Linked DNA regions of Homo sapiens: all the other regions are linked to region 1. Evidence: promoter capture Hi-C in 16 types of primary human blood cells and fetal thymus (Javierre and others, 2016). All regions are on one chromosome and are shown on one strand. Each heading gives the region's core, a stretch centred on a gene start or on the middle of the fragment in contact. The rest is flanking DNA. Distances are from core to core; before and after follow the strand shown. Region 1 holds the start of TUBAL3 (tubulin alpha like 3). Region 2 has its middle 66 kb from the start of AKR1C1. Region 3 has its middle 41 kb from the start of AKR1C1. Region 4 has its middle 22 kb from the start of AKR1C1. Region 5 overlaps LOC107984198 (a long non-coding RNA gene).

Region 1 (5,815 bases), core at 2,047-4,546:
AGGAGAGGAGAACAGAGGAGGAAGGAGAAAGGGGTTTCAGTGCAATGGTAGGGGCCAGAGAGAATGGCAAAGGACAGTGATCTGGCTGTGGTTGTGAGGCTGCCAACAGAGAATTACCAAAGAGAACTTCAGAAATGTCAGAATGTCAATCAGAATTATTGCTCAGAGTTGAATAATTTTTTTTTTTTGTAACAAATTTTCATGCTTAGAAGGTTTTGTTTGTCTCATTACTTGGCCAGTGAATTGACTGGCTCACAATGAAAAATACTTAAGAAAGGAACTTTTTTTTTTTTTTGAGATGGAGTTTTGCTCTTGTTGCCCAGGCTGGAGTGCAATGGCGTGACCTTGGTTCACTGTAACCTCCGCCTCCAGGGTTCAAGTGATTCTCCTGCTTCAGCCTCCAGAGTAGCTGGTATTACAGGTGCCTGCCACCACACCCGGCTAATTTTTTGTATTTTTAGTAGAGATGGGGTTTCACCACATTGGCCAGGCTGGTCTTGAACTCCTGACCTCAGGTGATCTGCCCACCTTGGCCTCCCAAAGTGCTGCGATTACAGGCATGAGCCACTGTGCCTGGCCAAGAAAGGAACTTTGAACAAGGACATCGTAACTATAAATACCACACTTTTATCACTCTGCCATTTTTTCACCCTCAGAACCTAAGGGTGGCCACCAAGTATGTCAGAGTCAGTATTGTGTGTGTGATTTATTTTAAGGAATAAGTTAGTGTGATTGTGGGGCTGTAAAGTCTGGAATCAGTAGGGCAGGCTGGCAGACTGGCAGGCTGGAAACTCCTGAGTAACAGCTAAAGCTGAAACTAAAGGTGCCATCCTTAGGAGAAATTTCTTCCTCAGAGAAATCTCCATTTTACTCTTATGGTCTTTCAACTGATTGGATGAGGCCCACTCACATTATTGAGGATGATGTCCTTTACTTAAAGTCAAAGTTTACTGGAGATGTTCACCACACCTCCACAATGCCTGCACAGCAATACCCAGACTAGTGTTAGATTGGATAACTGGGTGCCACAGCCTAGCCAAGTTGACACAAAAACTATCACCCCAGAAGGCCTCTTCAGACGTGAAATTCCAATTATTATCACTTGAGGAAACTTTTTTCTTTAAGACTTAGTCTTTCAAAGAAATAAGGAATTACTAAAAGATAAGATGCATTTCTTAAATTATACTACAAAAGAGATTTTTCTAGTTTCTTTCTAATTCCTACGTAAATCTAAGTTAATCATAGCTCCATGTCAGACTGACAATTTTTAAAAGTTAATGAAAGATACTGAGTACATCAGTGGACTAGAAATGAGATACTCACATTATCTGATTTTTCCCTCATCTTGTTTCAAACTGAAAATATCTGGGACCAGTGGGAGAAAATTTGATACAGCAACAAAATAAATATCATTCTGATTTTATAAAATGGAACTGGCTTAATTTTTCTTTTCATTATATGGAACTACCAGGATGCTAAACATTTGGGGAGTTATTGACAGAGACAGATAGGATTGACTTTATGAAGATCAAAATGAGAGAAAGTATAATTTATAATAAGTTCAGGAGAAAATTGCTGAAGAACACTATGGTTTCTTCATTTTCTCAAAGTTGTAAGGAAGAATTGGTAGAAACCAAGATTCTTGAGTAACAGAAATTTTGTTTTGATTACTGAATAATAAAATTGTTACTATGCTAACAAAACATGTCATTAATTCAAAAGAAGATCAGGAAGAAAAGAGAACTTAGAAAATGGAGACAAACAGAAAGCACAAAATAAAATAGTACTCTATATCTAAACCCAACTATATTAGTTATTATATTAAATGTAATGAGCTGAATTCTCCAATTCAAATACAAAAATAGAAAAAAAATTCAGTTATATCATGCATACAAAGAACACATCCAAAATATGAGAATATGGAAAGGTTTTAAGTTTCTAAGAATGTAAAACGATGGGAAAATACATCATTCAAATGTGAACCAAAAAACTGTATTAAAGTAGTAATATTAATATTTGATCATAAAAACTTTAAGGTAGGCCAAGGCGGGCAGATCACGAGGTCAGGAGATCAAGACCAGCCTGGCCAACATGGTGAAACCCTGTCTCTATCAAAAATACAAAAAAATTAGCTAGGAATAGTGGCACACACCTGTAATCCCAGCTACTTGAGAGGCTGAGGCAGAAGAATCGCTTGAACCTGGGAGGTGGAGGTTGCAGTGAGTTGAGATCGCACCATTGCACTCCAACCTGGACGACAGAGCAAGACTGCATCTCAAAAAAAAAAAAAAAAAAACTTTAAGGTAAAAATAATTAATGTATATAAGGAGGGTAATTTAAAAATAAAAAATTGTTAAAGTTTTTGAAAATATAATAATTTAAAATTTATGTGCTCTTCATAACATGGCCTCAAAATGTATAAAGGAAAAATTGACAGAAAAAGAAATAATGGGTAAATTCACAATTATAATGAAAACTTTTAATACATCTTTTGAAATAATTGATACGTAAAATTTGGACTACACAATAAATCCATTTGATTTAATAGATTGATTGATTGAATGATCGGTCTATCTAAAATATTGCATCCAACAAATGTAGAATGCACATTCTTTTCAACACTCATGGAATATTTTCAAAAATTGACCATATAGTAGAATATAAAGGAAGCTTTAGCAAATATATAAGGAGAGAACTCAGTTAAGATGTGTGATCTGATCTTAGTGCAATTAATAAAAAATAATAACATAAGTATATATTATGTATAATAATATAAAAGTTCAAAAGACAATAATAATAAAAACAGAAAATTCCCATATGTTTGGATGTGGTAGTGGTTGAGAGGCATGCATAGGACACAGATGTAAAAAGGACACTGTCTTGGTTTGCTGTATGTATTCAGGGATTGTTTAAATTTATTTAAGAAGATATTCACATAGTACTCATGCAATAGAAAAAGCTACTTTGCTGTTGCAGAAAATTTTACTCATACTCCTTCCTTTTCTCTGCCAATGCTAAATAAATTCTTAACCCAAAAGGGTGATTTTTAAAAGACACATGTTCTTTTCAACATAGTTATAAGTTGGACGCAGATTTGGATAAGCTCTCAGTAGTTCATCTGCAGCTGTGTACAAACTTTATCCCGGGTTGTTCAGGCCCAACACAGCTACTCTGAGACCAGATAACTAAAAAAACTAAAAAGAAGCTATACTGCTTTAAGTGAAGAAAGCTCCAGCCCTCAGGTGGAGTCATTTCCGGGCCCTGTGATAAAGCTCAGCTGGGAGGCTCCTCAGTCATTACTACAGGGCAGGAAGGGCACGTTCTCATCAGCATGGTAAGTGACTACACGCCTATGCATTGTTGTAGGAAATTTTACTAATCATATTTGGCCCTTTTCCCACAGCAAACAATTCTTAATAAAATTGTAATGCAAGAGAAGACATTTGTAAAGAAACATTTGTTTCTTTCAATGTCCAAGTAGATGAGTTGGGAGCAGATGTGGACAGGCTGTAATCTATTCCTCTGTAATGTTGCTTCTTTCAAGGTAAAGCTCAGTTGATTTGCAGTAGCTCACTGCCATTAATTGAAGCACTGAAGCAAAAACCTTTCCTTCCTTTAGTTTTCACCTTTGTTTTAGGCCCAGAGTGCTGATTTTTCTGTAGATATTCATTGCTTCACTTTTCGTTAGGCTGTTAAGAGTTTCTGAGGACTTCAGACTTAGGTAACCGTGGCTAACCTCATAAATGCCTGGCAGGGTAAAGTGCGCAGACATCTTCTTTGCCCTCCCTTGAGTTTAGTTCTTTGGGCACCACAATGAATAGAATAACTTACAATAATTCTGTTTTGGGATGACCTTTTCAGATCCATTTGCCCTTTATTTTTTTCTGTGCCAGTTTTTCAGTATCTTTGAATTTTTAATTCTTCAATGGAAGCAACATTTCGAACTGCTTCTTGATCTTTGATTTCTCACCCCATTGGTCTCTCTGTCCAACATTTAAAAAATTTTAAATTGTTTTGCTTTTAAAAATTATGCCTTTCAACATGAGAGAGACTTGTGATAATAGCATGTTCTGTATCTTATCACTGTCAACATTCTGGGTGTGATTTTGTATTATGGTCTTGCAAGATGTTTCCACTGCGGGAAATGGGTAACGGATGCAAGGGATCTTCCTATGTTATTTCTCACAGCTGCATATCAATCTACAAAGACCTCAAAATTGAAAGTTTAACTGAGAGTTATGCTTTTCTAGTAATTCAAATAATCCTTATAGCAGCGTTTAATAATGTGCTATGACTTATCAGTGTTGACGTTCAGTGGACATTTTATAGTCTTCTACTTTATAGTGTGACTAATATTTTCATAGAGAATTTGGAAAAAAAGGGAGAGGCTAAGAGAAGAATAAGGCAAAGATAGTCTTCTACACCCTTGGACAGAGTTATGTTATAAGCTAAGCTCCTTCAAAGACGAAGGATGCTTGTTAGTCCAGGCTATTCGTGCTGATTTCAAAAAGAACAGCATCACTCTGCTTTCTGAGTCACTTGAACAGACCACGTGAAGAGGAACAATCTTTTTTTTTTTTAATGTTAGTGATTATTTTTACTGTGACTATTATGAACAAATACCACATGTACACCTGAATTTTACTCGTCACTGTAACACAGGACTGGGTGGTAGCCAGTGGAGAAGACAGAGAAATCTACATGTAAACTTTACAAAGTAAGAGGTTTTAATGATGTAGAAACAATGAACGTTCACCCTCTCCTTTTAAAATGTTAACTTAAATTTAAGGAGCCAAGTTTTGATCAGATTACAGCAGCTGATGTATTTGCAGCACTTTAAGTCCGACAGAAGGGGAGAGGAATAAGATTAAGGTTATCTGAAGCCTGATAAGGGGTATTCGAAGCCTGTTTATAACAGAATATGCTGTCTTGAGAGGTGGAATATTAGTTTGTCCTAAATGAAGTGCTTTCTAAATTAGAGAGACTGATAGTTGCACAGAAAATAAACAAGATGGAAGCCCTACTAAGGTAGTGAACTTGAATTGGTCATGAAGCAGAGGGCTGTTATGCCTTGTGAATCACAGAGACAAAGTACAAAGGTTTGATGCCATTGAGCATGAACAGAGTCCAAGTCAGATTGCAGGGGTGTGGCCGACCAGAGCCCTCTCCTTACTTTCCTCTGACTAGTGGTCTGTGTAGACCAGTGGTCCTCAACTTTTTGGCACCAGGAACCAGTTTTGTGGGACACAATTTTTCCATGGAGTCGGCAGTGGGGATGGTTTCTGGATGAAACTGTTCCACCTCAGATCGTCAGGCATTAGTTAGATTCTCATAAGGAGCACACAACCTAGATCCCTTGCATGCGCAGTTCACAATAGGGTTAGTGCCCCTATGAGAATCTAATGCTGCCGCTGATCCGACAGGAGGCAGAGCTCAGTCAGTAATGCTCACTCACCTGCTGCTCACCTCCTTCTGTAAAGCCCAGTTCCTAACAGGGCACAGACTGGTACTGGTCTGTGGCCCGGGGGTTGGGGACCCCTGTGTAGACCACAGGTGAGGGATTGACAGGAGGCCTGAGGTCTTTCAGTAGTTGAATCTCAGGCTTTAGGGCAGTGTAGCCATGAACAAGGGCAGGGCTCCCCTCAGCTTATCTGGTCAAACAGCCCAAAGGGTCCTGATGATGCAGAAGACATGGGGGTCTCATTCTACAAGACCCTCTAAATAGATTTGTTTCAGCACCACAGTCAATCAAACCACACCAATATTAAGAACAGCGATTGCTATCACCTCAGATTTCTTAGAATTTAGCTTTTAC
Region 2 (5,815 bases), core at 1,422-3,921, 510 kb after region 1:
AGACTGTAACCGTGGTGTCTAAACTACTCTAATCCTAAGCAGATAAACTAAATGATGAACCAATCAAAATAATAACAACGTTTCAAGACATAAACAGTACAATATGATATAAATAGAAACAACAAAAAGTTTAAAAGCTGGGGTACGAGTACGAACTTAAGGTGTAAAGTTTTTATTAGTTTTATTTTTGCCAGTTTGTTTGTTTATACAAACACTGTTGTTATCAGCCTAATAGAACCAGAATAACCCAAGCTATCCTAAGCAAAAAATACAAAACTGGAGGAATCACATTACCTGACCTCAAATATTTTTTAAATTATACTTTCAGGTTTGATATATAGGTATACATGTGCCAAGCTGGTTTGCTGTGCCCATCAACTCATCATTTACATTAGGTATTTCTCCTAATGCTATCCCCCCGCCAGCCCCCCACCCACTGACAGGCCCAGGTGTGTGATGCTCCCCACCCTGTGTCCAAGTGATCTCATTGTTCAATTCTCACCTATGAGTGAGAACATGCGGTGTTTGGTTTTCTGTACTTGTGATAGTTGGCTGAGAATGATGGTTTCCAGCTTCATCCATGTCCCTGCAAAGGATGTGAACTCATCATTTTTTATGGCTACATAGTATTCCATGGTGTATATGTGCCACATTTTCTTAATCCAGTCTATCATTGATGGACATTTGGGTTGGTTCCAAGTCTTTGCTATTGTGGATAGTGCTGCAATAAACATACATGTGCATGTGTCTTTATAGTAGCATGATTTATAATCCTTTGGGTATATACCCAGTAATGGGATGGCTGGGTCAAATGGAAATTCTAGTTCTAGATCCTTGAGGAATCACCACACTGTCTTCCACAATGGTTGAACTAATTTACACTCCCACCAACAGTGTAAAAGCATTCCTATTTCTCCACATCCTCTCCAGCATCTGTTGTTGCCTGACTTTTTAATGATTGCCATTCTAACTGGTGTGAGATGGTATCTCATTGTGGTCTTGATTTGCATTTCTCTAATGACCAGTAATGATGAGCATTTTTTCATGTGTCTGTTGGCTGCATAGATGTCTTCTTTTGAGAACTGTCCATTCATATCCTTTGTCCACTTTTTGACAGGTTTTTTAATTTCTTGTAAATTTGTTTGAGTTCTTTGTAGATTCTGGATATTAGCCCTTTGTCAGATGGGTAGATTGCAAAAATTTTCTCCCATTCTGTAGGTTGCCTGTTCACTCTGATGGTAGTTTCTTTTGCTGTGCAGAAGCTCTTTAGTTTAATTAGATCCCATTTGTCTAGTTTGGCTTTTGTTGCCATTGCTTGTGTTGTTTTGGTCATGAAGTCCTCGCCCATGCCTATGTCCTGAATGGTATTGCCTAGGTTTTCTTCTAGGGTTTTTATGCTTTTAGGTCTAACATTTAAGTCTTTAATCCATCTTGAATTAATTTTTGTATAAGGTATAAGGAAAGGATCCAGTTTCAGCTTTCTACATATGGATAGCCAGGTTTCCCAGCACCATTTATTAAATAGGGAATCCTTTCCCCACTTCTTGTTTTTGTCAGGTTTCTCAAAGATCAGATGATTGTAGATGTGTGGTGTTATTTCTGAGGCCTCTGTTCTGTTCCATTGGTCTATATATCTGTTTTGGTACCAGTACCATGCTGTTTTGGTTACTGTAGCCTTGTACCTGACCTCAAATTTTACTACAGAGCTATAGTAATCAAAACAGCAGGGTATTGTCATAAAAACAGACACATATATCAATGGAACAGAACAGAGAACCCAGAAACAAATCTACACACCTACAGTGCACTCATTTTTAACAAGGTGCCAAGAACATACACTAGGGAAAAGACAATCTCTTCGATAAATAGTGCTGGGAAAACTGGATATCTATATGCAGAAGAATGAAACTAGACCCCTATCTCTTGCCATATGCAAAAAAATCAAATCAAAATGGGTTAAAAGTTTAAATCTAAGATCTCAAACTACGAAACTACTACAAGAAAACATTGGAGAAATCTTCAGGACATTGGTCTGGGCAAAAATTTCTTGACTAATACCCTATAAGCATAGGCAACCAAAGCAAAAACGGACAAACGGAATCATAAGTTACAAAGCTCTGCACAGAAAAGGAAACAATTAACAAAGTGAAGCGAAAACCCCCACAGAATGGGAGACAATATTTGCAAACTCTTCATCTGACAAGGTATTAATAACCAAAATACATCGGGAGCTCAAACAACTCTATAGGAAAAAAATGTAATAATCCAATTTAAAAAATGGTCAAAAGATTTGAATAGATTTTTTTTAATCTGTCATTATTTCCAGCTTTATCTTATAAAGTTTGTTTATTTTTCTTAGTTTTTTTTTATTATATTTTAAGTTTTAGGGTACATGTGCACAACCTGCAGGTTAGTTACATATGTATACATGTGTCATGTTGGTGTGCTGCACCCATTTACTCGTCATTTAACATTAGGTATATCTCCTAATGCTATCCCTCCCCTCTTCCCCCACCCCACAACAGGCCCCGGTGTGTGATGTTCCCTTTCCTGTGTCCATGTGTTCTCATTGTTCAATTCCCACCTATGAGTGAGAACATGCGGTGTTTGGTTTTTTGTCCTTGTGATAGTTTGCTGAGAATGATGGTTTCCAGCTTCACCCATGTCCCTACTAAGGACATGAACTCATCATTTTTTATGGCTGCATAGTATTCCATGGTGTATACGTGCCACATTTTCTTAATCCAGTCTATCATTGTTGGACATTTGGGTTGGTTCCAAGTCTTTGCTATTCTGAATAGTGCCGCAATAAACATACGTGCGCATGTGTCTTTACAGCAGCATGTTTTATAATCCTTTGGGTATTTACCCAGTAATGGGATTGCTGGGTCAAATGGTATTTCTAGTTCAAGATCCCTGAGGAATCGCCACACTGTCTTCCACAATGGTTGAACTAGTTTACAGTCCCACCAACAGTGTAAAAGTGTTCCTATTTCTCCACATCCTCTCCAGCACCTGTTTTTTCCTGACTTTTTAATGATCGCCATTTTAACTGGTGTGAGATGGTATCTCATTGTGGTTTTGATTTGCATTTCTCTGATGGCCAGTGATGATGAGCATTTTTTCATGTGTCTTTTGGCTGCATAAATGTCTTCTTTTGAGAAGTGTCTGTTCATATCCTTCGCCCACTTTTTGATGGAGTTGTTCGTTTTTTTCTTGTAAATTTGTTGGAGTTCATTGTAGATTCTGGATATTAACCCTTTGTCAGATGAGCAGATTGCAAAAATTTTCTCCCATTCTGTAGGTTGCCTGTTCAATCTGATAGTAGTTTTTTTTTTGCTGTGCAGAAGCTCTTTAGTTTAATTAGATCCCATTTGTCAATTTTGGCTTTTGTTGCCATTGTTTTTGGTGTTTTAGACATGAAGTCCTTGCCCATGCCTATGTCCTGAATGGTATTGCCTAGGTTTTCTTCTAGGGTTTTTATGGTTTCAGGTCTAATATTTAAGTCTTTAATCCATCTTGAATTAATTTTTGTATAAGGTGTAAGGAAGGGATCCAGTTTCAGCTTTCTACATATGGCTAGCCAGTTTTCCCAGCACCATTTATTAAATAGGGAATCCTTTCTCCATTTCTTGTTTTTGTCAGGTTTGTCAAAGATCAGATAGTTGTAGATATGCAGCATTATTTCTGAGGGCTCTGTTCTGTTCCATTGGTCTATATCGCTGTTTTGGTACCAGTACCATGCTGTTTTGGTTACTGTAGCCTTGTAGTATAGTTTGAAGTCAGGTAGCATGATGCCAATATCCCTGATGAACATCAATGCAAAAATCCTCAATAAAATATGAATCCAGCAGCACATCAAAAAACTTATTCACCATGATCAAGTGGGCTTCATCCCTGGGATGCAAGGTTGGTTCAACATGTGCAAATCAACAAACATAATCCAGCATATAAACAGAACCAATGACAAAAACCACATGATTATCTCAATAGATACAGAAAAGACCTCTGACAAAATTCAACAATGCTTCATGCTAAAAACTCTCCATAAATTAGGTATTGATGGGATGTATCTCAAAATAATAAGAGCTATCTATGACAAACCCACAGCCATTATCATACTGAATGGGCAAAAAACTGGAAGCATTCCCTTTGAAAACTGGCACAAGACAGGGATGCCCTCTCTCACCACTCCTATTCAACATAGTGTTGGAAGTTCTGGCCAGGGCAATCAGGCAGGAGAAGGAAATAAAGGGTATTCAATTAGGAAAAGAGGAAGTCAAATTGTCCCTGTTTGCAGATGACATGATTGTACATCTAGAAAACCCCATCGTCTCAGCCCCAAATCTCCTTAAGCTGACAGGCAACTTCAGCAAAGTCTCAGGATACAAAATCAATGTACAAAAATCACAAGCATTCTTATACAACAATAACAGACAAACAGAGAACCAAATCATGAGTGAACTCCCATTCACAATTGCTTCAAAGAGAATAAAATACCTGGGAATCCAACTTACAAGGGACGTGAAGGACTTCTTCAAGGAGAACTACAAACCACTGCTCAATGAAATAAAAGAGGATACAAACAAATGGAAGAACATTCCATGCTCATGGGTAGGAAGAATCAATATCGTGAAAATGGCCATACTGCCTAAGGTATAGATGCAATGCCATCCCCATCAAGCTACCAATGCCTTTCTTCACAGAATTGGAAAAAACTACTTTAAAGTTCATATGGAACCAAAAAAGAGCCCTCATTGCCAAGTCAATCCTAAGCCAATAGATGTTTCTTAAAACAAGACATACCCATGCCAAACAGATATACGAAAAGGTGCTCAGCATCACTGATCAGCAGAGAAATGCAAATCAAAACTACAATGAGATATTATCTCAACCTAGTTAAAATGGCTTATATCCAAAAGGCAAGCAATAGCAAATGCTGGAGAGGATGTGGAGAAAAAGGGAAGCCTCGTACACTGTGGTGAAAATGTAAATTAGTACAACCACTATGGAGAACAGTTTGGAGGTTCATCAAAAAACGGAGAAGAGAGCTATCATATGATTCATCAACCCCACTGCTGGGTATGTACCCAAAAGAAAAGAAATCAGTATACAGAAGAAATATCTGCACTCCTGTATTTGTTGCAGCACCGTTGACAATAGCTAAGATTTGGAAGCAACCTAAGTGTCCATCAACAGATGAATTGATAAAGAAAATATGGTGCATATACACAGTGGAGTATTATTCAACCATAAAAAAGAGTGAGATCCTGTCATTTGCAAGAACATGGATGGAACTGGAGATCATTATGTTAAGTGAAGTATGCCACGGACATAAAGACAAACATCACATATTCTCACTTATTTTTGGAATCTAAAAATCTAAACAATTGAACTCATGGACATAGAGAGTGGAAGGATGGTTACCAGACGCTGGGAAGTGTAGCTGGGGAGGGGGGTTGGAGGGGAGGGAAGTGGAGGTGGTTAATGGGTACAAAAAAAGTAGAAAGAATAAATAAGACCTAAATATTTGATAGCACAACAGGGTGACTATAGTCAATAATAACTTCATTGTACATTTTTAAATAATTAAAAGAGTACAATTGGATTGTTTTAACACAAATGATAAATGCTTGAAGGAATGGATACCCCATTCTACATGATGTGATTATTACACATTGCATGCCTGTATCAAAACATCTCATGTACAACATAAATATATATACCTACTATGTACCCACAAAAATTTTTAAAAAATTAAATAGTGGAATCGAATCAAGTCTTTAAATCCAATATCTATTTACAGAAAGAGATA
Region 3 (5,815 bases), core at 2,262-4,761, 480 kb after region 1:
TATGGTTTTAGGGGTCAGGATTGTAATCTCATCAACATGTGATTTACTGCAAAAGGTCTGTTTAGGTCACTCATGTTAATTTCCTTGCCCTTGGCATGTGGTTGCAGTGGGAAGAGAGCTGCTGTGACCCAGTCCTAGCCAATGCCACATAAGAGGGACTATGCTAGGGGCTTCTAGGAAGGATTCCTCACTTCTAGGAAGAAATTTTTAAAATAAGGTGGCCTTTCTTCTGCAAGTAGCTATTGTCCTGCTGCAGTGTGAGTTCAAAAATTGCTTCAGCAGCCTCCACCCACCCTGAAGATAACATCAATACACAGAAGAAGAAGAGCTGGAGAAGATGAGAGTGTCTGTGTGTGTGCCTGTGTGTGTATGTGTGTGCACCTGTGTGTGTGTGCACCTGTGTGTATGTGTGCCTGTGTGTGTGTGTGCCTGTGTGTATATGTGTTTGTGTGCACCTGTGTGTGTGTGCACCTGTGTGTATGTGTGCCTGTGTGTGTGTGTGCCTGTGTGTATATGTGTTTGTGTGCTAGTGTGTATGTGTATGCAAGTGTGTGCATGTGTGTGTGCCTGTGTGCATGACTCCATGTAAGTGTGTGTACCTGTGTGTGTGTGTGATTGTCTGTGCCCTAGGATTGTTGGAATGGTAAATGAGCATCATATCTAGGAATAAGATAACCACAGAGGGGAAATATCACTACCATGAGAATTACAATTACAAAACACTGCTCAAAGGAAATCAGAGACGAGAAAAACAAATGGAAAAACATTCCATGCTCATGGATAAGAAGAATTAATACTGTTAAAGTGGCCATACTGCCCAAAGCAATTTACAGATTTAATGCTATTCCCATCAAACTATCAATGACATTCTTCACAGAACTAGAAAAAAACACTATGTTAAAATTTATAAGGAACCAAAAAGACTCTAATAGTCAAGGCAGAACAAAGGTGGAGGCATTACATTACCCAACTTCAAACTATATTGAAAGGCTACAGTAACAAAAACAGCATGAGACTTGTACAGAAACAGACACATGGATCAATGGAACAAAATAGAGAGCCCAGAAGTAATGCTGCACAACTACAATAATCTGATTTCTGTCAATTAATAAAAACAAGCACTGGGGAAGGGACACTCTATTCAAGTGATTGGTACCTGGGTGACAAAATAATCTCCACACCAAACCCCCATGACATGCAATTTACAAATCTGCACATGTACCCTGAACCTAAAACAAAAGATAAAAAAAAGACTGCAATCTAGCATTGATGGACAGTAAGGCAATGTAACTACTGTCTTTACCGATTTCAGGTGTTTCTATCTATTGGGAGACTGCCTTTCAAATGCTTTAAGGTTTTAGGAGTCATGGATGGTCACCGATGTAATGAGGGAAAAGAGAAGTTATGTAACTGCTGACACTGGAGATTTTAAGAATAGAGATGATGAGATAATGTGTGAAAAACATAACCACAATGGCATATCATAAGAACTCAAAAACTGGTAGATACCATTGTTGATATTTTATTAATATAGAGGAAAATAAAAAATAAAAAGGAAATTATTAAATAAAAGGAAGAATAGCAAGCATCTGTAATTCTTACCACCAATGAAATATCTAACGATAAGCAGGCATTTATTTGTCCCTTTATTTTTTGCATTATGTCTACATAGACATTTTTAGTGCATTGTATTTTCTTGGATATTGGACCCTGGATCATATACAACAATTTACATTTCTGAAACTAACAAATATGTTGCATATGGTAGGCAGGCAGTAAATAATAAATAAAGTAATAAAAGAAAGCCTAATTGCTACCAGTAGCCTTTCACACTCAAAATTATTTATTAGTGATGAGCGTATAACTTGTTTCTCCTTCAAAGTAAGGCAGAAAGAGTTCCTACTTCCATTGAGAATTTGAAATAGAATATCTCTTTGCTCTGTAGGCAGATGTACAGGAATATGTTTGAACATTTGACTTTGTGTGTGTTTTGTTTGTTTGTTTTGAGACAGAGTTTCGCTCTTGTTGCCCAGGCTGGGGTGCAATGGCATTGTCTCAGCTAACTGCAACCTCCTCCTCCTGCGTTCAAATGCTTCTCCTGCCTCGGCCTCCCAAATAGCTGCGATTACAGGTGTCTGCCACCATACCCGGCTAATTTTTGTATCTTTTAGTAGATACGAGGTTTCACCATGTTGGTCAGGCTGGTCTCAAACTCCTGACCTCAGGTGATACAACCACCTACCTCAGCCTCCCAAAGTGCTGGGATTACAGGCGTGAGCCACTGGGCCCGGTGGAATTTGTGTTTTATGTATTAAGTTCCAGGCAGGGGAGTAGAATTGAATAATTTATTACTTTGATAATACAGATACTGTAAAGTCATGTTCATAAAAGTAAAAAATGCAGACACTCCAGCAATCAGAAAATGAACTTCTTAACATCCACACTAATGGCAGCTTCCTAGAAATCACTGTGCTACCCCCCCAATAATGGAATCATTGCAGTTCTTATCATGCATTATCCTTTCTTCTTCAGTCTTGCTGGCCACCCTGATTATCCATTTTCAGGTGAATATTAACATGGAGGACTTTGTATGAGTTCTATCAGAGGCCCTGTGTGTGGATGGTGACACAGAGGACGTCTTTATGCTGGTGATTGGACACATCGCCTTTGGCTAAATCTACCCTGCTTAGCGACTTCAGTCAGCCAAATATAAGTTCACAGGCCAGAAGGGAAAGACAATATTTTTTTTTTCTCTTTGAAAAAATTGAGTGCTCTCTTCCAAAGATTCTTTACCTACTTTGGTCTCCATTACTTGTATGTTTTCTTTCTTTCTGACTCATTAGCTCAAAAATGGTGATTTGCTTATAAGTTAGGATCAGGGGGTGGGAGATGATGACAACCATTTTATAGACATTTTTAGGTGGGCATGGGTGATTTCCAGCTTCTAAAGAAGGAGCTGGTGACAGGTATATATCAGTGCATCTTTAGCTATTTGAGGAACAAGAACACACACAGCATCGAGTCTGGAGGGTGAGGGCTATTGAAAGGATGACCAGGAATCCATGGGCTTCCTCCAGCAGTGCAGGGATCAGATTCCTAGGCTCCCTCCCAGAGCCTAGGAATGAGGCATCCCTCCCAGAGCCTAGGAATGAGGCATCCCTCCCAGAGCCTAGGAATGAGGCATCCCTGTGGGAGGGGTGTTCAGTGAGGAGGGAGGGCACCCACCCAGGAGAAATGATTAGAAGTCAGATATTGAAGAGGTTTAGAAGGAGAGGGTTGAGTACATGTATGCTTGGAAAAATACATTGGCACCATTTTTTGGATAATTATATGTTGTGCATAAAAGGAAATTCTCTCCACAATGCTTTAAGAAATCCTAGAGCTGAGAGTCAGGCCTGGACCTCTGATGTGTGGCCAGTTACAGCACTGACCGTACTGGGCTGTGGTGGGAAAGGACATTGAAGACACCATTGACTGATCAGATTCCCCTAAATACCAACCCCATCTTTAGAGAATGTTCTTAGATTCCAAAAATATACTATTAATTTATGATACTTGATCTTTTTACATGTTTCATACATAAAATAAGTGATGGTTTTGGGGTCAGGATTGTAATCTCATCAACATGTGTTTTACTGCAAAAGGTCTGTTTAGGTCACTCATGTTAATTTCCTTGCTTTTGGCATGTGGTTACGGTGGGAAGAGAGCTGTAAGGCATGCTTACAAGTATAAAAGACAAAATGTTCTAAAGCCATTACATATTACTCTCAAATTAAGATCAAAATGGTAAATAATACATCTAATAAAGCAAATTCTCCAAAATCCCAAAAATCTTTTGGAAACAGTGTCTGCAAAATTGCACAATGTTTTCAAACTTTAGTAAATGTCAGGAACAACTCTTACAAATATATGTAATTCTTTTACATAGTTTTTAGGGGTACGAAGTAAATCAGTTAATCATGGGGACATAAATTTTCATTTCAGGCAGCTCTTTTGAAAACTTGGGATATCCTGGTGAGAGCGTTTTGAGGACAGTGGTTTTTGACCTGGGCACACTAACACTTTCACTCTCAATTGTTCTTAGTCTGGTGGCCACCTTAACCCCATCAAAGAGGCTTTCTCAAGCCAGGTCTCCCAGCAAGTTTTGCAGCCCACAATCTTTCCTTAAACTATTTATTCCTTAAAATTGAGGGAGGTCATAAACTTTGGAGCGCCCTAGGCCAATTTCTTGGACTGTTTTCTGTCTATTTTCATTCCCTTGATGATCTCTGGCTTTAAATACCACCTTTAGGTTGAGAAACACCCCAAAAATATTTCTAGCTGAGCTTTTTCCTCCAAACTCCAGGACAGAACATAACAATGTGTGCTCTACATCTCCTATTAGTGTCTAAGGGACATTCACCCTTAGCATGTCTCAAACAAACCATGTAAACAACTGCCTCCTGTTCCACCTCAACTTTCTTATTTTAACTAATAATTATTTCACATCTCATAAGGTTGATTGATGTAACTACCAAGAAAAGAATGACATTTTCTTAAAACTTACAGGTCAAGTGTGTAGTTCTTAGGAAATATTTTAAATTTCAGATTTCTTTAGCATGCATAACATGTTTTTCCAGATGTGAAATAATCATTAGGACAGTCATTTGTAAATACTAAATCTGCTACAGGCTTATTCCAGTTCTTTACCCTCTGTTTCCACAAAATTCTTAGTTAAAAACAAACAAACAAAAACTTACTCAGAATTTCTTAAAGCTCAACACTTGGTTTTAGGAACACTTGGGATGTAAGAAAATTGTATAGGGACCTCCAATCCCTGATTTCATTATTTTTTCTCTACAAGAAATGCTGAAGGGAATTATTCAGGTTGAATAAAAGGAAATAGTAACTTACAGCCATTTAGACCTATAAAGACATCTAGTCAATGTGAATAGGTGGCAAAATATGAAAACATGTATTTTTGAAATTTTGGAATTGTACTCTATTTTTCTTCAAGATTTAAAATATAAACGTATAGAAATAAGTATAATTCTAAGTTAATATGTACACAATGCAGAAAGCTGTAATTAGTGACAAAACAATGTGAAGTAGAGTAAAAACCTGGGGAAAGGGAGAGTTTTTATATAAAATTAAAGTTAAATTGGTATTGATTCAAAATAAATTGTTATAATTTTATAAAATCATATGTCATCCCCATAGCAATCACAGAGAATAACTGTAGAATATACTCAATAGGAAATGAGAAGGGAATCCAAATGTCATTTATAAAAAAGTCACACAACCTTACAAGATGATAGTAATGGTGAATATGAAGGATAAAAAGCTATAGAGAGTGGTAAAACATTGAAAATGGCACAAGTAGCTGGGACTGGTGGCTCACACCTGTTATCCCAGCACTTTGGGAGGCTGAGGCAGGCAGATCACTTGAGGCCAGGAGTTTAAGACCAACATGGTGAAACCCCATCTCTACTAAAAACACAAAATTAAGCAAGGTGTGGTGGTGCAAGCCTGTAACCCCAACTATGCAGAAGCCCCAGAGGCAGAGGTTGCAGCGAGCCAAGATTGCGCCACTGCAATCCAGCCTGGAAAACAGAGGTAGTCTCTGTCTCAGGAAAAAAAATAATAATAAAGAAAAAGAAAATGGCACAAGTAACTCTTTCCCTGTCATTAATGACAGTCATGTGTCGTGTAATGCCTGGGCTATCTTCTGAGAAAGGCTCTGTGAGGCAGCTCCATCAATGTGGGGACATGAAAGCATGAAGAGAAAATTCTCTCGATGTCATTGCCTCGCCAACTACGTTTATGTCATATTCTA
Region 4 (5,815 bases), core at 2,329-4,828, 460 kb after region 1:
GTATTCCAGAATTTCTGCCTTGCTGCTGCCACCCTCATCTCTGGGTGCTTTCTCTTAGTAATTTTTCTCCTCTGACCTCACCGTGCTCTATGGTTATAAATCCCCTCTTGTCTTAGTTGGACTCAAAGTTGAGCTTCAAGGGAACCAAAACATTTTACACTAAAATACATTTATTTGACACATTTCAAGACAGCTATTCAGAAAAGCAGGAAATATTAGAAGGGACAAAAAGCTGTCTTTAGTGGGAAATACTTGCATCTGTAGAGAAAATTTGCATTGTTACAGCTGGGCTTTCTCTGAGAATCTCCCTTGGATAGAAGAAAGATTAACTGAGAATCTGATACCTTTAAAGGTCTAAAGAAAAACATTTCTCAGCTGTTCTCTCTGAGGGCTGCTTCCTGGGAGATTTCATCTAAATAATGAAACCTCTTTTGCTAGCCAGGCTTGTTCTTCTCTCCATCCCATAACCTGTGTTGCCACTGTAAAAAATTTTGCCAAGATTTAAGTGCAATGGTGCAATCACAATGCCCTGCAGCCTTGACCTCCTGGGTTCAAGCAATCCTTCTACTTCAGCCTCCCAAGTAGCTGAGACTACAGACAGGTGCCACTACACCCAGCTAATTTTTAAAATTTTTTCTTTTTAGCAGAGATGAGTTCTCAAGGTGTTTTCCAGATTGGTCTGAGCTGAAGAGATCCTCCTGGCTCAGCCTCCCAAAGTGCTGGAATTACTGGTATGAGCCACCATGCCTGGCCATCTGGCTGTTTTTCCTGCATTCTGCCTGTAATTATTTTTTAGGGTCTTTTTCCACATGTCTCATGTTCAGAGTCTCTAAGGCACATGGTGTAGCTGAGCTGATTCACCCCTGTCCTGTATAGAGCACCATGTGGGGGAAAGTTCCTGGTCTGCTATGCCATCGCCCAGCCAAAGGAGGGCTGCCTTTCTCTGGTTTCACATTCCTGTTTTAAACAGTCATGCCCAGAATTACTTGGCTACATTGCGACCTTAATACAAAATCTAGTTTGTGAAGTCATAGAGTTTGCTTTTCATAAAACTAAAATCTCTTTGTGTTTGTCTCACATCCCATTAGGGTCCCTCTTTTAGCACCTCGCTAAGATTATTAAAATTAATTAAAATATTTTGATGAACTAGAATGTCTGCAGAAACCTCTAGCCGTTTGCAGAAACCTCTAGTCATTTTGCTGGTTCAACAGGATAACCTTTTTTCCACTAAGGAACATTAGTGTTTGTTTAGTCGTGAGGTTAATATTCCCCATTTTTCCACCTCCCCTCTCCCAGCCCAAAATGTACTAGGCTGAGTGTTAAGGACCAAAGACTAATCACTTGGCCAAAGGGTTCCTTGTATCCCCACAAGTCCTAGGTATTTTTCTCTCATTGAGAGAAGAGGGTGTGTACTGATGCCTGGACATGGGATTTTATACCTTCTTGGCATCCAAGGTTGAAAAATCAATATACAGAGAAGGTATAGAAAATTCCCTAAAAAATGATGGGTAATGCCAAGACTATGGGTTTTTCTTTCCTCCTGTTACTTGTAACAACGATATTCTAGTGTGAAACTTGAGTTCTGCATTTCTCAATTTTTCTTGACTCTCAAACTAGCTAAACACTTCATTCTTCATTCTTAAGAGATTGGCACCAAATCACTTTGTCCTGTTTGGGAAATGCAGTGTTTCTCCTTTGGGTGCATTTTTGAAGACCAAGGCAAAAAACATTAAAGTTCATTTTTATTGTCTGTGTGGGCAAAACATTTGATTTTACTGAACATGCTCCATAGTTACATGGCAGGATGTTTTGACTGGCATAAAAACTAACCAAACTTCTAAATGTGAAGTAGGTCACCGGAAGAGTACAGGACTCTTTGTGAGTTGTTTTTCTCTCCAGTCCAGTATTTTCCTAAACATGTTTCCTAAATAACATAGGGATTTCATTTGGAATAAGCAAGTCATTTAAATTTATTCATAGGTATAGGAGGGTCCAGAAATGTTAAAAGCACAAGTGGTTTCAACTGTATGCCTTTGCTTTATGCGATAGTAGAGTAAGTTGAAAATGTTTTCTACTGAAGCAAGTGACTGTTTCCCTATGATTAAATAAGAGCAGCTTCAGATGGCTGGTTTGCACTGAAGGGTGGAGCAGGCCCATTTGCTTTCACGTGTCAGAAAAGTCTGCTCTACCCCACCCCTCAATAAGGCACTCACATCCACCAGGCGTGATCCTCTAAAAGTGATTCCATAGTGTTATCTCCAACCTCCTTCTCTGGAAAATCTTGCTGACTCACAGTGACTAGGGGACTTCTATGGCATTCTAGACCTGCCAGTCACAAGCCTGGATCATTGTACCTGTTCTGAGTTGCACCGGTCTTTTACTTTAGTGCCAGGTGGTTGGAAAGTGGCCCATGAAATAGAGCTGCTCATTTTTAAATTATCCCTTTTGTTGAAGCTTTTGTTCAGGAGGCAGGAGTGGGGCCACCGGCTGTGGACCTCATGGTACACTCTTGTTTTTAAGACGTGTTATACAGGGCGAAGGAAAGCAAAATGTGCCACTCAAAATGTACTTTTTTGGCATATTTTATGTGGCTATTCAGAGGGGTCACAATTCAGAGAGGCTGCTGACACACAAATAGACCTGAAAAGCTTTCTTCTCTCGCAGAGATTTGTAAGTGCTGAGGAAATGTACATTAGTGAAGTGAACAGAGGGTAAAAGCCTTTCTCTGAGGACCCCTTTATATGCCTTATTGGATCAAGGAAAGATTAACTTCCAGGAAAAACAGACTAAGATCCTGACACTTTAAAGGTCTGACTGAGAAGCTTCTCCACAGGCCGCCACCTACCTTCTTGAGGTCAGCTTGGCGAGCCCCTGAGAGGCTCACATCTATGTGGGGACAGCCTTGGCTCACCATGTGTGCCTCTTCCACTCCCCCATTACCTGAGACTCCACCTCCCCCAGAGACCCCAAGCCCCTGTTCTCTCTGTAGCCTCAGGATGTGATGAAACCCTCTGTCATCAGGACCACCCTGGAGTCTCTTATTGGCAGGAATCTGATGTCCATGTACATATATACAAATTTGCTGTCTTTTTATATTAACCTTTCACTTGTCAGTTTGTTTTATACACTCTAATTATCAAAACTTCAGAAGAGAGAGGGAAGAAAATGCCCTTTTGTGCCTACATGGGTATCTGCATTTCCCATGCAAAGCAGAAAAGGTGAAGGAAAGTAATAAAACCCAGTCCCAGAAGTAGCAAACATGGCCCTGACAATGGCAATGAAGGAATAGTGCATGGCCTAAGATTGGTCTCCCCACGACTGAGGACCATCAGGGCCAAGTCTCTTGTCTTTCCTTCCTCCCTTCCCTTCACCCCCAACTGCACACAGCCGGACACAGGACACAGTTTGGTAAGAGCATCTGATTAGGGAGGGTAACTGGGAAACTGTACATGAGAATGTGCATGAGTGAGGGTGAATATGTTAAGAATTGAGGGGAGGAAAACCTATCCTTCTGCAAGTCTATTTACCTATCTACTACGTTTTTATATGTTAAGACTTCTGAGAGCCTGCTGTTGGGTGTGTAGTGCGATCCTCTGGAAGGAAGTTGAGGAAGACGCTGTCTGTGCCTCACTTTCTCCTTGGGCTTATGGCAGCTTTCCAGTGGAAACCTGACAGGACAAGCCTCTGTACAAGATCCCCGTGTTTGTGCTCATTGTACAGTAACTGATCAACACACAGAAATAGCGGCTGTTGAGCAGAGAAGGGATTTAATACTTGAAGGCAAACAAATGAGGAGATAGGAGGAAACTTCGAATTCACTGCCCTGAGGAGTTTTAGACAGGGGTTTCAAGGGAATTTTGGCAGGCAGGGGGCTGAGGAGCAGGGCGGGGTGCTGACTGGCCAGGGTGTGGACTATGAAAGCCTAAGGATGTGGTAACTGCATTGTGGGGCTGAGTCAGTTCCTCGGAGGGGGCTGTAGATTGGATGGCATCTGTAGAACTGTTATAATGCATGATGCAGAAAATATCTCGAGTGGAAAACGTGAGATTTCCTACTGTTTGAGATGTTATCTATGAGGTTAGGACCTTGTGATAGGGACTACATGATTCCAAAGTGTAAGAAGTTACATGGAAGTGGGCTACAGGGCAAGCTGGTTAATGTGTAACTATGCTTTCTTTCAGAGTTCGTGCTTTTGCTAAAAAACCTAGACATTTGCTTTCATTAATATGATGAAGATGTTGTCACCTCCTCCAGTGAACACACTCATTCTGAGGGACAGCTGGGTTGCAATGGCTATCAACTTGTCACAATGCTTGCATTGATGGAAAGCTTTCCTTCATCTGAATGAAAACATTCCTCCATAGTAAGCACTAGGTCATGAGAGTCTCTGGGAAACACTCAGGGTACACAAGAAATGTGTTTTGTTGTTAAAAACAAAATCCTTTACTTTGCTCAAGGGAAGGCTGCTGATCTCAGCACATATTTCAGCCTGGGCATCACCCAGCAGTTTCTCAGAACTTACATGAAGGGATCCAACTAAGCATAATTCTGAATATTGTTCACTAATCCTGACTCTGCTTCCTTCCCAGGTGTGGAATCAAAGACAGAAATGCTCCCTCTCCCCTTCTGCTGTGTCTTTCCCCTGAGGCTTTTCTGCACGCCATCACTGCCCAGCTTGGCATCTGTCCTGGGCATTGGTAATAATGTGGTACTCTTCACCCCCTTCTAGCGTTTGATCACTCATCAGGAGCCCTCATCTCCGCGGGGAAGAACACAGAACGTGAGCTCCTGACTTCTTGCTTCTTTCTGTCAGCTTTCATTCTGATATATCCAAGTTGCAAGAGAAAAATAGAGGCGACATGGCATTCACCCTAAACCTACTTTGCATGATGATGTCTGTTACACTTAGAAGAAACATACTTTATTGAAAGAGATGCGTAAGTCCTCCATTCTATCCATTCTCCAGATGACTCTGACTTAAATAGAGCGAGTTTCACTGTCTTGGTGAGTCTATCGCTCTTTGGACACCTCTTCTTCAGGGTCAGAATTCAAGAGAGGGTCCTGGAGGTCTGAATGTTTCTCAGAAGCCTCCAAGCCCTCAGCTGCCCACTTCAAAGCTCACAGCCTCAGCACCACAAGGCACCATGATGTCCCCAGGGTAATTTCCTTAGGCTCTCTCCCACTTTTATTTCAGTCATCAAAAGAGCCCAGGACTCCAGTTCTGAACTGAACTCTCATTCCCTAGAGCTCTTACCTCCAGTTTTCTGACTTTTTCTCACACTTTCCTTAATTCTAAAACCCTTCTGATGGTCCTTCTAGAACCTGTAACTTCCCATTAGAAAATTCAAAATTCTCACTTTATGTTAATATTATCAGCTTCTGTTCCCTCCCCTGTTTTTCTAACCCAAACTTCTAGTTTCCATGAGGATTCTGTTTCTCCTGCAGTGCTCCTAAGGGGAGGTGTGGGTCCTCTCCCACTGTCCTCCCAGGGAGCATGGAGGGAGGACAGACATCCTCCTTTCTCCTCACTGCCTCATCTACCCAGTCCCCCTCCTGCTCCCTAGAAACACCCATTTTTCAAACTACCTTTCCTTGTGGCAATCACCTGCCTTCTACCTCACTTGCTCTGATTCCTTAGAGATTTTTTCCTGTGTTTGAGTTACATTGTGCAGTCCTACTTCTGCCATCCTTCCTGGTGTTTTCAATACGCTCATAGATATTGCAACCCAAGCTCTAATCATTCATCTCCTTCCCACCATCTCTTAAACTTATGTCACTGAGGTTTTTTTTCTGCCCTCATTGTCCTGCTAAAAAT
Region 5 (5,815 bases), core at 1,887-4,386, 360 kb after region 1:
CTGCTGTTGCTACCCATAAGCAATAGGTTACATACATTCCTGATAATGACACCCCTCTTATGAGGGCCATTTCTCAGGCAAGGGAATACGGGGATCCCGAGGCATGGCCGTTTCCTGTTATTCTACAATCTCCTATACCTGCTGCCCCCATTCTAGCTGCCCCTGCTCTGGCTGCAATGGATCAGCCACCACCTGCTGACCAAGTTCAGCAGGCAGCTGACGCCACTGCCTCTCCAGACCCGCAGCTCAGGGATCAGGCTCCTCAGCCAGTGCAACAAGGGCCTGATGTCCCAGCAGAGCCAGTTCCTGGCATACATTCCATTCGGGCTGTGGTGCAACCTGATCCTTTACACCCTGGTCAGGTCCACCTATGACCTGCTACTTGGGAAAGTTTTTCTTTCAAATTCCTTAAAGATTTCAAAGAGTCGGTTAAACAATATGGTACCAATTCCCCTTTCGTCCGTTCCGCCCGAAAATCCTTAGCAGAAGATAAATGCTTGGTGCCTTGTGACTGGGAAATTCTAGCAAAATCTGTCTTATCTAAATCACAATATTTACAATTTAGGACATGGTGGGTTGATGCTGTCCAGGATTGAGTCCGCCTTAATCAGGGCTCTAATCCTCCTGTTAACGTTACAACTGACCAGTTACTGGGAATGGGGCAGTGGGCTGCAATTAGAAAGCAAACTATATTGAATGATGAAGTCACTGAGCAACTCCGAAAATGCTGCCTGGGTGCTTGGGATAAGATTCAGGATGATGGCACTAGATGTCCCTCCTTTACAGCCATTAGACAAATGCAAAATGAACCATACCCCTGACTTCATTGCCCATCTTCAGGACGTGGCAGAAAAATCTATTCCTGATCTAAATAACCAACATTTGGTTGTGGAACTCATGGCTTATGAACAAGCAAATCCAGATTATCAGGCTGCTATTCACTCTGTAAAAGGTAAAATCCCACCAGGAAGTGATTTAATCACATCCTATATTAAAGCATGTGAGGGTGTTGGTGGAACGTTACATACTGCTATGGTCACGGCTCAGGCTATGGCCAGCATTAGAATGCTTGGACAATTTCCTGGTAATTATTTTCACTGCAGCCAATCTGGACATACCAGGAAAAAATGTCCTCGGTGTTCAGACCACCACCCTGTACAACACCAATCCCCAAAGGCCGTACAACTGCGAGTCCCACCATCCACACCATGCCCAAGATGCCATAAGGGCAATCACTGGACAGCTCACTGCCACTCGAAATTCGACACTAATGGCAACCCTTTACAGCCACTTCAAAACCAGGGAAATGGTAAGAGGGGCCAGCCCCAGGCCCCTCCAGACAATGAAGCATTCCCCAACTCCCAGCCTTGGCCTTGCAGCCAGATGAGGGCATCCCCAGCTCAACCAATCGATCCAACCACTCAGTTTCCACTTCAACCATTCATGCCACAAGCATAGATGTCACAACCCCAACAAGGATCTCATTTCAATGCTTGTCCCCCGCCACCACAGGATCTGCAGCAGTAGATCTCTGCTGTATTAGAGACATTTCCCTTTTGCCTGGAGAGCCACCAATAGCTGTTCCCACAGGTGCTTTTGGGCCCTTGCCACCTGGCTCTGTTGGTTTATTGCTCAGTCACTCAAGCTTAAATTTAAAAGGTGTTCAGGTACATAATGGTGTAATTGACTCTGATTACTCTGGGGAAATACACATTACTGTTAGTTCTGCAGTTCCTTGCCAAGCTTCAGCAGGAGATTGAATTGCTCAACTTCTTCTTCTGCTGTACATTCCACTCAGATCCAGTTCTCATAAAAGAACTGGAGGTTTTAGGAGTGCAGATAATCAGGGTAAAGTGGCTTACTGGGCTAATAAAATTTCTGACACCTGACCTGTTTGTTCCACGCATATACACAGAAAGAAATTCATGGGCATGATTGACCTGGGTGCTGATGTTTCCATTATTGCTTTACACCAATGGCCTCGTCACTGGCCCAAAGAAGTCACATTCACCGGGTTGGTGGGAGTTGGTCAGGCCACTGAGGTTTATGAAAGTTCCACTATTTTACATTGTACTGGCCCAGAGGGACAGACTGGTACTGTTCACCCTCTACACCTATTCCAGTTAATCTCTGGGGAAGAGATCTTTTACAGCAATGGGGTGCACAAATTTCATTTCCACATGCTGCCAACAGTGAGCAAAGTAAAAACATTATGACAAAAATGAGATATGTTCAAGACACTGGTCTGGGAAAATTGGCTCAAGGTATTACTGCGCCTATTCAACCTTTCTATAAATTTGACTCCAAAGGGCTTGGTTATTCTTTTTAGAAGCAGTCACTGTCAAGCCTCCAGATGCCATCCCTTTGACTTGAAAACTCAGCCAGTTTGGGTGGATCAGTGGCCGCTCCCAAAAAATAAGCTGGAGGCGCTCCATAATTTAGTCCTGGAACAGTTAGAATTGGGACACATTGAGGAATCTTTCTCTCCATGGAATTCACTTGTCTTTGTTATCCAAAAGAAATCTGGAAAACAGAGAATGCTCACTCATCTTAGGGCAGTTAATGCTGTACTTCAACCTCTGGGGACATTACAATCTGGCTTACCCTCCCGCTCTATGCTCGCTGAGTATTGGCCTCTAATCCTCATAGATCTTAAAGATTGCTTTTTTAACATTCCACTGGCCTCTCAGGACTTTGAAAAGTTTGCTTTTATGGTCCCTTCCCTCAACAATGTCGCTCAGGCTACATGCTACTATTGGAAAGTCCTACCACAAGGCATGCTTAATAGTCCCACTATTTGTCAGTATTTTGTGGGGCGTGTGCTTCAACCTGTCAGGGATCAGTTTCCCCGATGTTACATCGTTTACTACATGGATGATCTCCTCTGCACAGCCCCCCCATACACCATTTTGATTTCCTGCTTTTCTGTGATTCAACAGGCCATTTCAGAAGCAGGTTTGACTATTGCACCAGAAAAAATTCAAACTACCTCTCATTTTCAATATTTGGGCATGCAGTTGGAAGACAAGCTGATTACACCACAAAAAGTTCAGCTTAGGAGAGACGCCTTAAAAACTTTAAATGACTTTCAAAAGTTACTTGGGGATATTAATTGGATTTGCCCTTCTTTGGGCATCCCTACATATGCTATGTCAAACCTTTTTGCCACATTATGTGGGGATCCAGATTTACACAGGAAAAGGTTTCTTACAGAAACCTCAGACTCAGAGAGGCTGAGTCTGAGTTATGATTGATTGAACAAACAGTTCAATGGTCTCAGGTCACTAGATTCAATCCCAAATTACCTTTTACTATTTTAATTTTTCCCACTGAACACTCTCCAACAGGGATCATCACTCAGGAACATGATATAATTGAATGGTGTTTTCTTCCCCATAGCTCTCTAAGGACACTTACTATTTACCTTGACTAAATTTCTACCCTCATTAGGCAAGCCTGTTCCCATCTTTTATGACTTTTGGGACAGGAATCTCAAAAAATTATTCTTCCCTTAAACCGTCAACAACTCTGACAAGCATTTACAAATTGTGTTATTTGGCAGGTAAATTTGGCCCATTTCCCTGGTATAATTGACAATCATTACCCTAATGTAAAATTGTTCCAGTTCCTGAAACTCACTTCCTGGATTTTACCTAATATTACCAGAAGTATTCCATTAACTGGAGCCGTTACTATATTTACTGATGCTTCCTCTAATGGCCGTGCTGTATACACAGGACCATGGGAACGCGTTCTTAACACAGGACCTATTTCTGTACAGCGAGCTGAACTTAGCACTGTTATGACTGTCCTTGAGGATTTTCCTGAGTCTGTCAACATTGTTTCTGATTCTGCATACCTCGTGCATGTTGCCCACAACATAGAAACGGTGTTAAATTTTTGCCTGAGGAAAGTTTACTTTCACTTTTTCAAAAGTCTTAGACAGTTCTCAGAGCACACTGTGCCCCCTTTTACATTACTCATATTTGAGCCCATACATCACTTCCAGGACCTCTTTCAGCTGTAAATGCCAGAGCTGATGCTTTAGCCACATCCATTTTTATGGACATGCGAAATTGTCGTGCCCTAACTCATGTCAATGCTGCAGGACTCAGAAGCAAGTTCCCTCCCACATGGAAACAGGCAAAAACCATAGTACGGCACTGTCCCTCTGGCCAAGAGTTAATTTTACAACCACTTCCTTCGGCAGTTAATCCTACAACCACTTCCTTCCAGAGTTAATCCTACACCACTTCCTTCCGGAGTTAATCCTACAACCAATTCCTTCCGGAGTTAATCCTACAACCACTTCCTTCCAGAGTTAATCCTAGAGGCTTTTCCCCCAACACACTCTGGCAAATGGACGTGACCCACTTTCCAGCTTTTGGGAGACTTTCTTTCATACATGTAACACTTGACACCTTTTCCCATTTCATCTGGGTTACATGCCAAACAGGAGAAAGTACTGCTCGTGTTAAATGACATATGCCTTCTTGTTTCTCAGTTATGGGCTGCCCTGCTAAGCTTAAAACTGATAACGGTCCCAGCTATACCAGCATTGCCTTTAAAAAGTTCACTCAAGCATGGGGCATTACTCACACTACTGGAATTCCCTATAATTCTCAAGGACAGCCTCTGGTGGAATGAGCTAATAAACCTCTCAAGGACCAGCTTCGCAAACAAGGTAACAAAAAGAAAGGGGATGTCAGTACTCCCCATGCTCAGATAAATTTAGCTCTGTTCACATTAAAATTTTTAAATTTGGCCAAGAACCAACCTTTCATGGCAGCAGAACAACACTTTGCTGGTAATAAATTTGACCCACAAAAAGGCAAGCAAGTATGGTGGAAGGACACAAAAACTAATAAATGGGAATTACGCACTGTAATAACATGGAGTAGGGGTTTTGCTTGTGTCTCCCCAGGAAAGGACCAACAACCTGTTTGGGTTCTCTCCCATCAGCTGAATTTGTACCATGACTCCAGCCCTGAAGAACCATCAGAAACAAAAGGAGAAGAGCCGCCAGAAATCAAAACGCAAGGCTCGTCACCTGACTAATACAATTTATATCTCAAGTTTGCCTCACAGCCTCGCCCTATAACTCCCAATGCTAAAATTCCACCCTGCTGATGTGGGGGGGTCAGATAAAAGTAATGTCCGAAGAGGTTGAGAGACACCTACAGGACAAAGGGATTCCAAAAACTATGGGTAATGTTATCTTGGCTGCCTTTATGGTAGTTACTGCAGTGGTAAGTATACCCGGGGCTGCAGCAACTCAAAATTACACCTACTGGCATATGTCCCGTTTCCATTCTTATTCGATCTGTTTCATGGATGGATTCCTCAGTGGAAGTTTATACTAATGACAGTGCATTCATGCCAGTCCCTAATGATGACAGATTTCCGGCTTAAACAGATGAAGAAGGAATGCCTTTTAATGTGTCCATTGGATATAAATTTCCACCATTGTGTGTAGGATTTGCACCTGGTTGTTTGGCATTCTCTAATCAAAATTGGATGTGGACTGTACCGGCCTCCAGCAATGATTCTTATCAGGTGCATAATGTCTTCTGTAGTAATTCTTTTCAGGTTCTGACCGTTAACATAAATTCATTTGAAGAACAGAGAATTCCTGTCACAGTAAAGCATAATAAAACACAAGGATTGCCAGACTGTTTAAAAGACCTTATAAAGGGACCTAATAATTCAAAACATTCTATGGAGTGATTGCAATGCCCCAAAAGTAGTGGTGCTAAGGAGTCCGATCACAAGTGTTGTCATTGACTGGGCCCCAAAAGGATATTATTGGCGAGAT

Evidence for each region. The method cuts DNA at HindIII sites, captures the fragments that hold promoters and counts their contacts. A CHiCAGO score of 5 or more calls a contact.
Region 2: a fragment that was not itself captured here is called in contact with the fragment with the promoter of TUBAL3 in region 1 in 7 of 17 cell types (M2 macrophages, total CD4 T cells, M1 macrophages and 4 more); the score reaches 8.6 in M2 macrophages.
Region 3: a contact is called between a fragment that was not itself captured here and the fragment with the promoter of TUBAL3 in region 1, in 2 of 17 cell types (M2 macrophages and M1 macrophages). The highest score is 7.8, in M2 macrophages.
Region 4: a contact is called between a fragment that was not itself captured here and the fragment with the promoter of TUBAL3 in region 1, in 2 of 17 cell types (M0 macrophages and M1 macrophages). The highest score is 5.4, in M0 macrophages.
Region 5: a fragment that was not itself captured here is called in contact with the fragment with the promoter of TUBAL3 in region 1 in 2 of 17 cell types (M0 macrophages and erythroblasts); the score reaches 6.6 in M0 macrophages.

Annotation. Positions count from the first base shown.
Region 1 is chr10:5,402,309-5,408,123 of GRCh38, reverse strand. It overlaps TUBAL3 (tubulin alpha like 3), which reads left to right and starts at 3,296. Exons shown (of 4, transcript NM_024803.3): 1 at 3,296-3,334. The coding sequence starts at 3,332. The HindIII fragment of the contact is 4,190 bases long and covers 2,673-5,815 here.
Region 2 is chr10:4,894,882-4,900,696 of GRCh38, reverse strand. It overlaps the pseudogene AKR1C6P. Among named protein-coding and RNA genes, the nearest start is that of AKR1C1, 66 kb to the left of the region's middle. The HindIII fragment of the contact is 9,579 bases long and covers 1-5,815 here.
Region 3 is chr10:4,919,343-4,925,157 of GRCh38, reverse strand. No RefSeq gene overlaps it. Among named protein-coding and RNA genes, the nearest start is that of AKR1C1, 41 kb to the left of the region's middle. The HindIII fragment of the contact is 7,566 bases long and covers 1-5,815 here.
Region 4 is chr10:4,938,171-4,943,985 of GRCh38, reverse strand. No RefSeq gene overlaps it. Among named protein-coding and RNA genes, the nearest start is that of AKR1C1, 22 kb to the left of the region's middle. RefSeq lists a cis regulatory region at 1,957-2,528. The HindIII fragment of the contact is 1,507 bases long and covers 2,825-4,331 here.
Region 5 is chr10:5,039,786-5,045,600 of GRCh38, reverse strand. The region is part of intron 3 of LOC107984198 (a long non-coding RNA gene); the gene reads right to left. Among named protein-coding and RNA genes, the nearest start is that of AKR1C2, 39 kb to the right of the region's middle. The HindIII fragment of the contact is 2,781 bases long and covers 1,746-4,526 here.